Linked DNA regions of Homo sapiens: region 2 is linked to region 1. Evidence: promoter capture Hi-C in 16 types of primary human blood cells and fetal thymus (Javierre and others, 2016). All regions are on one chromosome and are shown on one strand. The core of a region is centred on a gene start or on the middle of the fragment in contact, and the rest is flanking DNA. Distances in the headings are between cores, read along the strand shown. Region 1 holds the start of NCOA7-AS1 (NCOA7 antisense RNA 1). Region 2 overlaps NCOA7 (nuclear receptor coactivator 7).

The links. The method cuts DNA at HindIII sites, captures the fragments that hold promoters and counts their contacts. A CHiCAGO score of 5 or more calls a contact.
Region 2: a fragment that was not itself captured here is called in contact with the fragment with the promoter of NCOA7-AS1 in region 1 in 7 of 17 cell types (non-activated CD4 T cells, activated CD4 T cells, naive CD8 T cells and 4 more); the score reaches 7.0 in non-activated CD4 T cells.

The regions. Positions count from the first base shown.
Region 1 is chr6:125,816,354-125,820,354 of GRCh38, forward strand. NCOA7-AS1 (NCOA7 antisense RNA 1) reads right to left here and starts at 2,505. Exons shown (of 3, transcript NR_126386.1): 1 at 2,457-2,505. The region is part of intron 2 of NCOA7 (nuclear receptor coactivator 7); the gene reads left to right. RefSeq lists an enhancer at 1,730-2,231. The HindIII fragment of the contact is 4,548 bases long and covers 1-3,979 here.
Region 2 is chr6:125,897,062-125,900,688 of GRCh38, forward strand. The region is part of intron 10 of NCOA7 (nuclear receptor coactivator 7); the gene reads left to right. Among named protein-coding and RNA genes, the nearest start is that of HINT3, 58 kb to the right of the region's middle. The HindIII fragment of the contact is 1,674 bases long and covers 1,194-2,867 here.

The DNA.
Region 1 (4,001 bases), core at 1,255-3,754:
GGTTAATTTATCTCCATTTTACCAGTGATGCAACTAAGACTCAGAAAATATTTTGTCCATTTCATGCAGCATAAGAGTCAGTATTAAACATAAGGCCATCTCCAAAAGGCATGCTCCAGTTAGGAATAGTAAATCATGAATAAGGTTTTGGGGAAGCACAAGTTAAACTACCAATTGTAGTAAAATATTTTCTGCTATTATGACTACAGAGAGTAACCAGATTAGGGAAGGAAGACATCAGGCATCTAATGGATGAGGCACCAGAAAGATAGGATATTTAGAATAAATAAGATCTCCAAAGTTTTTATTTTGAGATAATTTTAGATTCACATGTAGTTAGTTGTAAGGAGTAATAGATACCCTGTATTCTTTATCCATAGTACAGTATCACAACTAGGAAATTCATATTGATACAATCCACCAGCCTTATTCAGAGCATTCATTGTATGTGTGTTTGTGTGTATTTAGTTCCATGCAGTTATATCACATGTAGATTTCTGTGGTCACCATCAGTCAAGATACAGAACAGTTGCATTAAAAGGATCCCACATGCTACCTTTTTGTATCCCTACTCACTCCTTCCATCTGCCTGCCTCCTCTGACAACCACTATAATTTGTCATTTCAAGAATACTAGGTGAATGGAATCATATAGTATGTAACCTTTGGCATTTAGCTTTTTCTTCCCTTCAGCATTACTCCCTTGACATCCCTCAAAGCTGTTGCATGTATCGATAGTTTGTTCCTTTTTATTGCACAGTAGCATTCCATAGTATGGATGAATCACAGCTTTTTAGTCATTTACCCATTGAAGGGCATTTAGGTTGTTTCCAGTTTGGGCTATTTATGAACAAAGATGCTAGATGCTACAATCATTTATGTACAAGTTTTTGTATGAGCATGAGTTTTCATTTCCCTGAGATAATTGTCTGAGAGTGCAATTGCTGGGTCAAAAGATAAGTGTATTTTTAGTTTTATAAAAAAGTGCAATACTCTTTTCTGGAATGGTTGTAACATTTGACATTCCCATCAGCAAAGTCTGAGTAATCCAGTTTGTCTGCATTGTCATTTGGTGGTGTCAATATTTTTTATTTTTATCTTAGCTATTCTGATAAGTATGTAGTGATATCTCATTATGGTTTTAATTTGTATTTCCTTAATGGTTAGTGAAGTTTAACATTTTCATGTGCTTATTATTAGCCATAGTGTATCTTCTTTAGTGGCATCTCCTTTCCTATCTTTTGCCCATTTTCTAATTGAATTGTTTAGGTTTTTACTGTTGAATTGTACACATTCTAGTCTTTTGTTGGATATGTGATTTGCAAATATTTTCTCCCGGACTGTAGTTTGTCTTTTCATCCAGTTAACAGAGTTGCAGAGCAAAAGGTTTTAATTTTGATGTGGTTCAATTTATCAGTTTCTCCTTTTATGAATTGTGCTTTTGGTCTGAATTCTAAGATCTCTTTGCCTAGCTGTATGTTCTGAAGATTCTCTCCTGTTTTTCTTTTCTGAAAATTTTATAGCATTATGTTTTATATTTAAGTCTGTGATCCATTTTGAATTTATTTGTGGATAAGATATGAGTTTAGGTCAAAATGGTGGTCATGCTTCTCCTCCCCTTCCTCCCCGTCTCCCTTCCTCACCTCCTCCCTTTCTTCCTGCTCCTCTTCCTGCTCCTCTTCCTCCTCTTCTTCCTCCTCCCCCTTCCCGCTTCTCCCCCTTCCTTCTTTCTCCCACCTCCTCCTTCCTCCTCCTCCTTACTTTCTTCTTCTTTCTTTTCTTTCTTCTTCACTTGCCCTACATAGTGATTTTAAGAGCTATAGTGCCTTCTCAGCCTGAATCCAAAGTGATTCCTGTAGTAAAGGTAACTGCCGGTTCATGAACAACCTGCTCAATGTTAACCTCTTCTTGTTCCTAAAATGTAGAGTCAGGGGAGCCCCTGAAACTGAGAATACAAACCAAAACTGTTCTGGAAGAGCAGCACAGTTTTTTCAACTCAGAAATGTAAAATTGTCTTGCTTATCATGACCTCTTCTGAAAAGTATTCTAAAAATGAAACAAAAAACGTATCCTAAAATGCTGAAATGTGATCTTGGGAGCATAGGGACAGTGGCACAAGGATGAAATCAGTGATGCTCTTAAGACAGTAAGACAACATGATTTGTAACTAGGAAATGAGAGAGATGGAGAGAGGAGAATGGAGAGAAGAGGGGGTAGGAGCAGGGAGAGAGAGAAAGAGACAGAGAGAGAAACACTGACTGACAAACCTGTAGTTTAGCTCTTACAATGCAGTGGAAGCCAGAAATGGTCAAGCTATTAAAAGCAAAAGGCAAACCAAAGAGAAAAGAACCCCCTTCAGCCTATAATCAGAAAAGAGCCATCCAAAGTTATACATCTTTTCAAATGCCTTCTGACTTAACTGTGGAATTACCATGTGGAACTAGCAACAGAACTTACTTGAAAGCTGGTTTCTGACAATGTAGAGCAGAGTTCTCTGGAGCAGCGTACTTAAGGGCAGTCCAAGCAAGATCTCTGGAGAGAAGGATAAAATGTCAGGCCAAGGGTGAGGCCAAACTGATGCAATCTCAGTTTTCTCTAAACTAAATTATACCACCTTACATAAATCTCAACTGGTGTTCTGAGGAAGTCAAAAGGAAGATTTACCCTGATGCTGTGCCTGCTGCCACAATTACATATCTGAAACCCTAAAAACTGCTTTTTAGCCTGCTTCCCCCTTCCACCTAGGAAAAACTAGGAACACCTAGTTTTTCCTCCTGAGTAGTTAAATAGCCAATGTTTTCTTTGTGTGCTATCTTATCATGTGGTTTCATAATCGTTGTGTGACTGTGTTTGATAAATAGTCCTTTGCCAAACCTGTTTTGTTGACGTTTCGCTCTTTAACATCAAAATAGAGTTTAAAATACCCTATTTTAATAATTTTGGATTGAAATTAGTGATTTGAGGGTCACCCAGTCTTTCCTTTCTTATAATTTATCTTGAAATATGCCTGTGTAACTCTAAATAGAGGGGTGGATTAATACTGCTACTAGATAGAGTAATTCTGGATAAGACCTGATGAATTTTTTGGATTTTCTGACCCTGGTCCAACTGGTTTTCAGGTGCTTCAGGATAGTTTTATAACAGTTGTTAAATCTAGATTGAATGATTTGTGAAACTTTTTCACAAATGGTTTTGCAAATAATTTATATATGCAAAATTAGTATATGTCTATATTAATTTCTTGATCCCTGACAGGTCTTGAAAACCAAATGAAAAACTGAATTACTAAAGCAAATTATACTTTCTGTACTATTTGTACTGTGTACAATTTATGCTATCCTCTGGGGTGACTATCATGTGTCATTTGTTACACCCCTGCTGACTCTTCCTTCCCCTTGTAGTTAGAATGCAAAATTTTCTTTAGTATTGCCATACAGGGCTGTCTTCTTACACACTTGCTTGACATTATTTGGCTTTTGTGATTTCCGAGTAGGTCCTTGTATGCCATTGGTTGAAGATTCTTTGAAAGCATTTTTTCAGGATCAAGCGTTGATTGAAGATATCCAAAATACATCTGTAGTTGAACCAAATGGTGTTTTGTGGGAGGTTTACTTTTCCCCTCTGATAAGGTGTGAGAGCCTGGGAGTAAACAGTGAGTAATATAGACGAAGACACAGACTGGGTGTTCATGTAGGTCCCTTGTTGGCTCCCACCTCCCCTATTCCCTGGTTGTCATGAAAAGCAGAACTGCTGCTCCCACCTCCGCTTTCCTCTTAACCCAGCCTTTCAGAGCAGCAGTAGGAGCCAGCACCACCTCTGTCATCATTCTCAGTGACAAAGGATGCAAAGTGTAGAACATTTCTTAGCTCCCATCTCCAGCCTCTGCCCTGGCAATTCTTCACCCTTGAACCTCTGACCCACAAGCAGAACACCTAGTGTTTGCAGTTCACTCCAGTGTATAACCTCTGGCAAGTCTTCTAAGCTTCCTTTACCTTACATTTC
Region 2 (3,627 bases), core at 781-3,280, 80 kb after region 1:
TAATATTTGGGATTTTTGTGCTTTCACAATAAAAATGAGTAACGTATACATGCGCACACAGGTATCTGTCAGTTTAAAAGGTATAATCTATGTTGCGTGTATATACCTGATAGTCCAATTTGAGACTAACAGTAGTATTTCCTGTAGTATAGTTCATCACCCAGAGTTCTCCATGGTTGCCTGGACCAAAGAGTAGAACCAAGAGCTCAAGGCCCCTTTTTAAGAAATGGTACCTTTTCTTTAAGTCAACATTTCCCCCAGGATATTCAATGGAAAGCTAGTCCCATGAACAAGCAATGGGTTAGAAAATAGATGTTTCATAGTTAAATATGTTTCATACTTAGTTCTTAGCTCTGTGTAGAGCAGAGCCTTAAGCTCATAGTTTTTATTCCTTAAATAGGCTTCTTTAAGGATTTCTTAGTTTTATTTTCTATTCTCTATTATTTTTCCTGGAATTGGCATAATAGCACACAGTTAATTTTTACTTTATCTCTAATCACATTTTGATTTTATGAGATTACTTTCATATCAATATATATTTAAAGACATGTTAGTTCAATCTCTCTGTTGGCTTTAAATTCTTTACTATAGTAAATGCAAATTGGGATGTATTTCCCTTTTCACATTTTTTTTTTGAGATGGCATTTTGCTCTTGTCACCCAGGCTGGAGTGCAATGGCATGATCTCGGCTCACTGCAGCCTCCGTCTCCTGGCTTCAAGCAATTCTCCTGCCCCAGCCTCCCAAGTAGCTGGCATTACAGGCACCTGCCACCATGCCTGGTTAATTTTTGCATTTTAGTAGAGACAGGGTTTCACCATTTTAGCCAGGCTGGTCTCATACTTCTGATTTCAAGTGATCCGCCTGCCTCGGCCTCCCGAAGTGCTGGGATTACAGACATGAGCCACCATGCCCAGCCCCTTTTTGACATGTTGAGTAGTAGCATCCATACATACTAAGACCATGTAGTAACATTTTGGCCACAAAAGCTATATTTTATTGTTAGGAGTGACTAGTTGATGACCGATCATAGTCAGGATTTTTCAACTCTCTTTCTATCTTCTTTTTCTTTTTCTAAACTATTCACTCTTGGTTCTGGAACATTTAGAGCAAAGCCTGAAAGTCATGAGTACTGAGCTTTTCATGATGTGCCATCCATCTGAAATCTTACTCATTTTTAAAACTATGGGTGCTAAGCTTCATTGGACCCTGATGTCATTCAGGTGCCTGAATTGCAACATTATAAAAGCATCAGATTATTCTGGTTGAGCACATATTTTTACAAAGATCATCCCATGTTATCTTCATCATCCCAAGGAGAATTTCTACTCTTAAAAACTCAAAGAGGAATATCAAAGAAATTAACCCACTACCTCAGCTATCAGTTTGCCCAGAGCTAAATCAGAGAGCATTAAGAGAGCAGATTGGGCAACAAATTGATGCCCTTCTTGACTTTGTGCTACTCTGATTGTGAATGTAGTACTTGAAAATAACAATTTCCTATTCTTTAGTTCCTCTTCTTAAAACCTATTTTGTACCATATGTCTATGATAATCTTCTAAAAAAAAACTATTCTGATCTTGTTTCATTCCCACAAAAATATCTTAAGCCTTCAGGACTCATGTCTAAACCCCTTCTGTATTTTTAAAAACCCTTCATAAAAGTGCTAGGATTACAGGTATGAGCCATTGTGCCCAGCCTATAATACATATTCCTAAACATTAGTTGGATGGGTTCATGAATAAATGAGCTTATAATCTAATAAATAAAAAATGTATTTGTTATTTCTTATAATTAAAATTATACAGACTAATATTTAGAAAATACAGAAAAGCAAAAAGAAGAAAATTGAAATCTCATAGTTTTGTTACAGAGAACTAACTACAATTCATTTTATCTGTATAGCCTTTTAGCCTTTCTTTCAATGCATGGATTAATGTAATAATACTATATAGATCATACATATATAGTATATGTAAATTGCTTTTCCTTAAAAATGTGTATTTTTCTGCCATTAAATATTCTATTCACATGCATTTAGTGAGCATGAATTATTTTATAATGAGAATCATAAAAAATAAAATTGATTCCCTATTAAACTTGTTTTACAATGGAAAGATGTTCAAATCCTAAGGACCTTCATGAAGACAGCAAAATGCTCTTAACAGCACCTTTTCTTAGAAATAAGGGATGAATTAAAGGAATTACAAACTGACCTAGTTTTCTAGCATGAAATCTTTAACCATAGTTAATGTGGAATTTTCTGATCAAAAGTCACCTTGCTTCTACTGGGATCACAGCTAACCTGGAATCTTTAATGCCTCCTGGTGCCAAGAAGACCATAATCTTGAACATTTTTTAGTACTGTACTTGCTGGAACAACTGAGGTCCTACTCAGCCATACCAGGTATATATCAGAATACAAACCCTGTGATTCGTAAGTACCACTTACCAATGTGTTATACTGTAATTTTATGATGATTCTTTAAGTTGAAAGTCACTAGTAAAGAAAAAACCCAAACAAGATCTCCAAAACATCCCTGAAAGAATTGTCTTCTTGTCTTCCTATTTAGTATGAATTTTGGAAAACCCCTAAACAAATATGTAATTATTGATTATTTTATGTTTTAAAGTGACACTGCTTGCTCTCCCTTCCTGATTATTTTACCTTTTTTTCATCAACTGAAAATTCCAGAAATTCATTACCCTCCAAAAACACCCTCTTAGGCAACCACCCCCCAGTAACTTCAGTAACCAGCTTTGGCAAATACCTTGAGTTAATCATTCACTCTACAGTCAGACGTAAGCTCATGAAAAAATAATCTTCTTTGTAAGTGAGCTCTTCACAGTGCTTTCTGGTGGCGGAGCAAGCTTGGAGACAAGTAGCTTTGGAGAATAGCTGAGGGTCCATTTCCACTGCAGACTAATCCCTGCCAATGGGTGCTGCACACAGTGTTTGGGAGTAAGTATGCAGAAACAGTAATGATTGCAAACCTAAATGCCTGCAGGGGCTGTGGAATGGGGGTAAAGGAAGCATGAGGCCAGGGTTAATTATAGAGCTCCTTCTCTACCAGTAGGGGCTGTGGACCTCTGTAGCTAGGTGGGAATGGGAACACAGGCCTGGGGTGTTGCTACATCTTCTCATCTTTTTCAAAAAGGAAGCCGAAATATCGATTAAATATATTAAATCTCCCCAGTTGTTAAGTATTGTCCACTGTTTAATTTTAAAGATAGTGAGCAGAGCAAAGAAAACATATTTACTTCTGAATCCACGCTATGGGCTGCCAGCCTGAGGCCTCTGGCATTGATATTAATATAAACTTTTACGTTTTTATTCATTTTCAAGTAATCCTTTTTATAACCACAACTGCTGTTTTGAGCTTTCTCAACAGAGCGTTCCTATTATTTTTGGTGAACCAAAGAGTATTTTTCTTTCCAGCTTTATTGAGATAGAGTTGACAACTTAAAATTATGTATTTTTGAGATGTTCAACCTGATGATTTCATGTATGTGTACATTGTGAAATATACATCACAATGGAGCTAATTAAACATCCTCATTACCACACAGTTAGTTGCCATTTTCTTCTTTTTTGGTATGTGTGGTAAGAACACTCGTTAGCAAAAAAG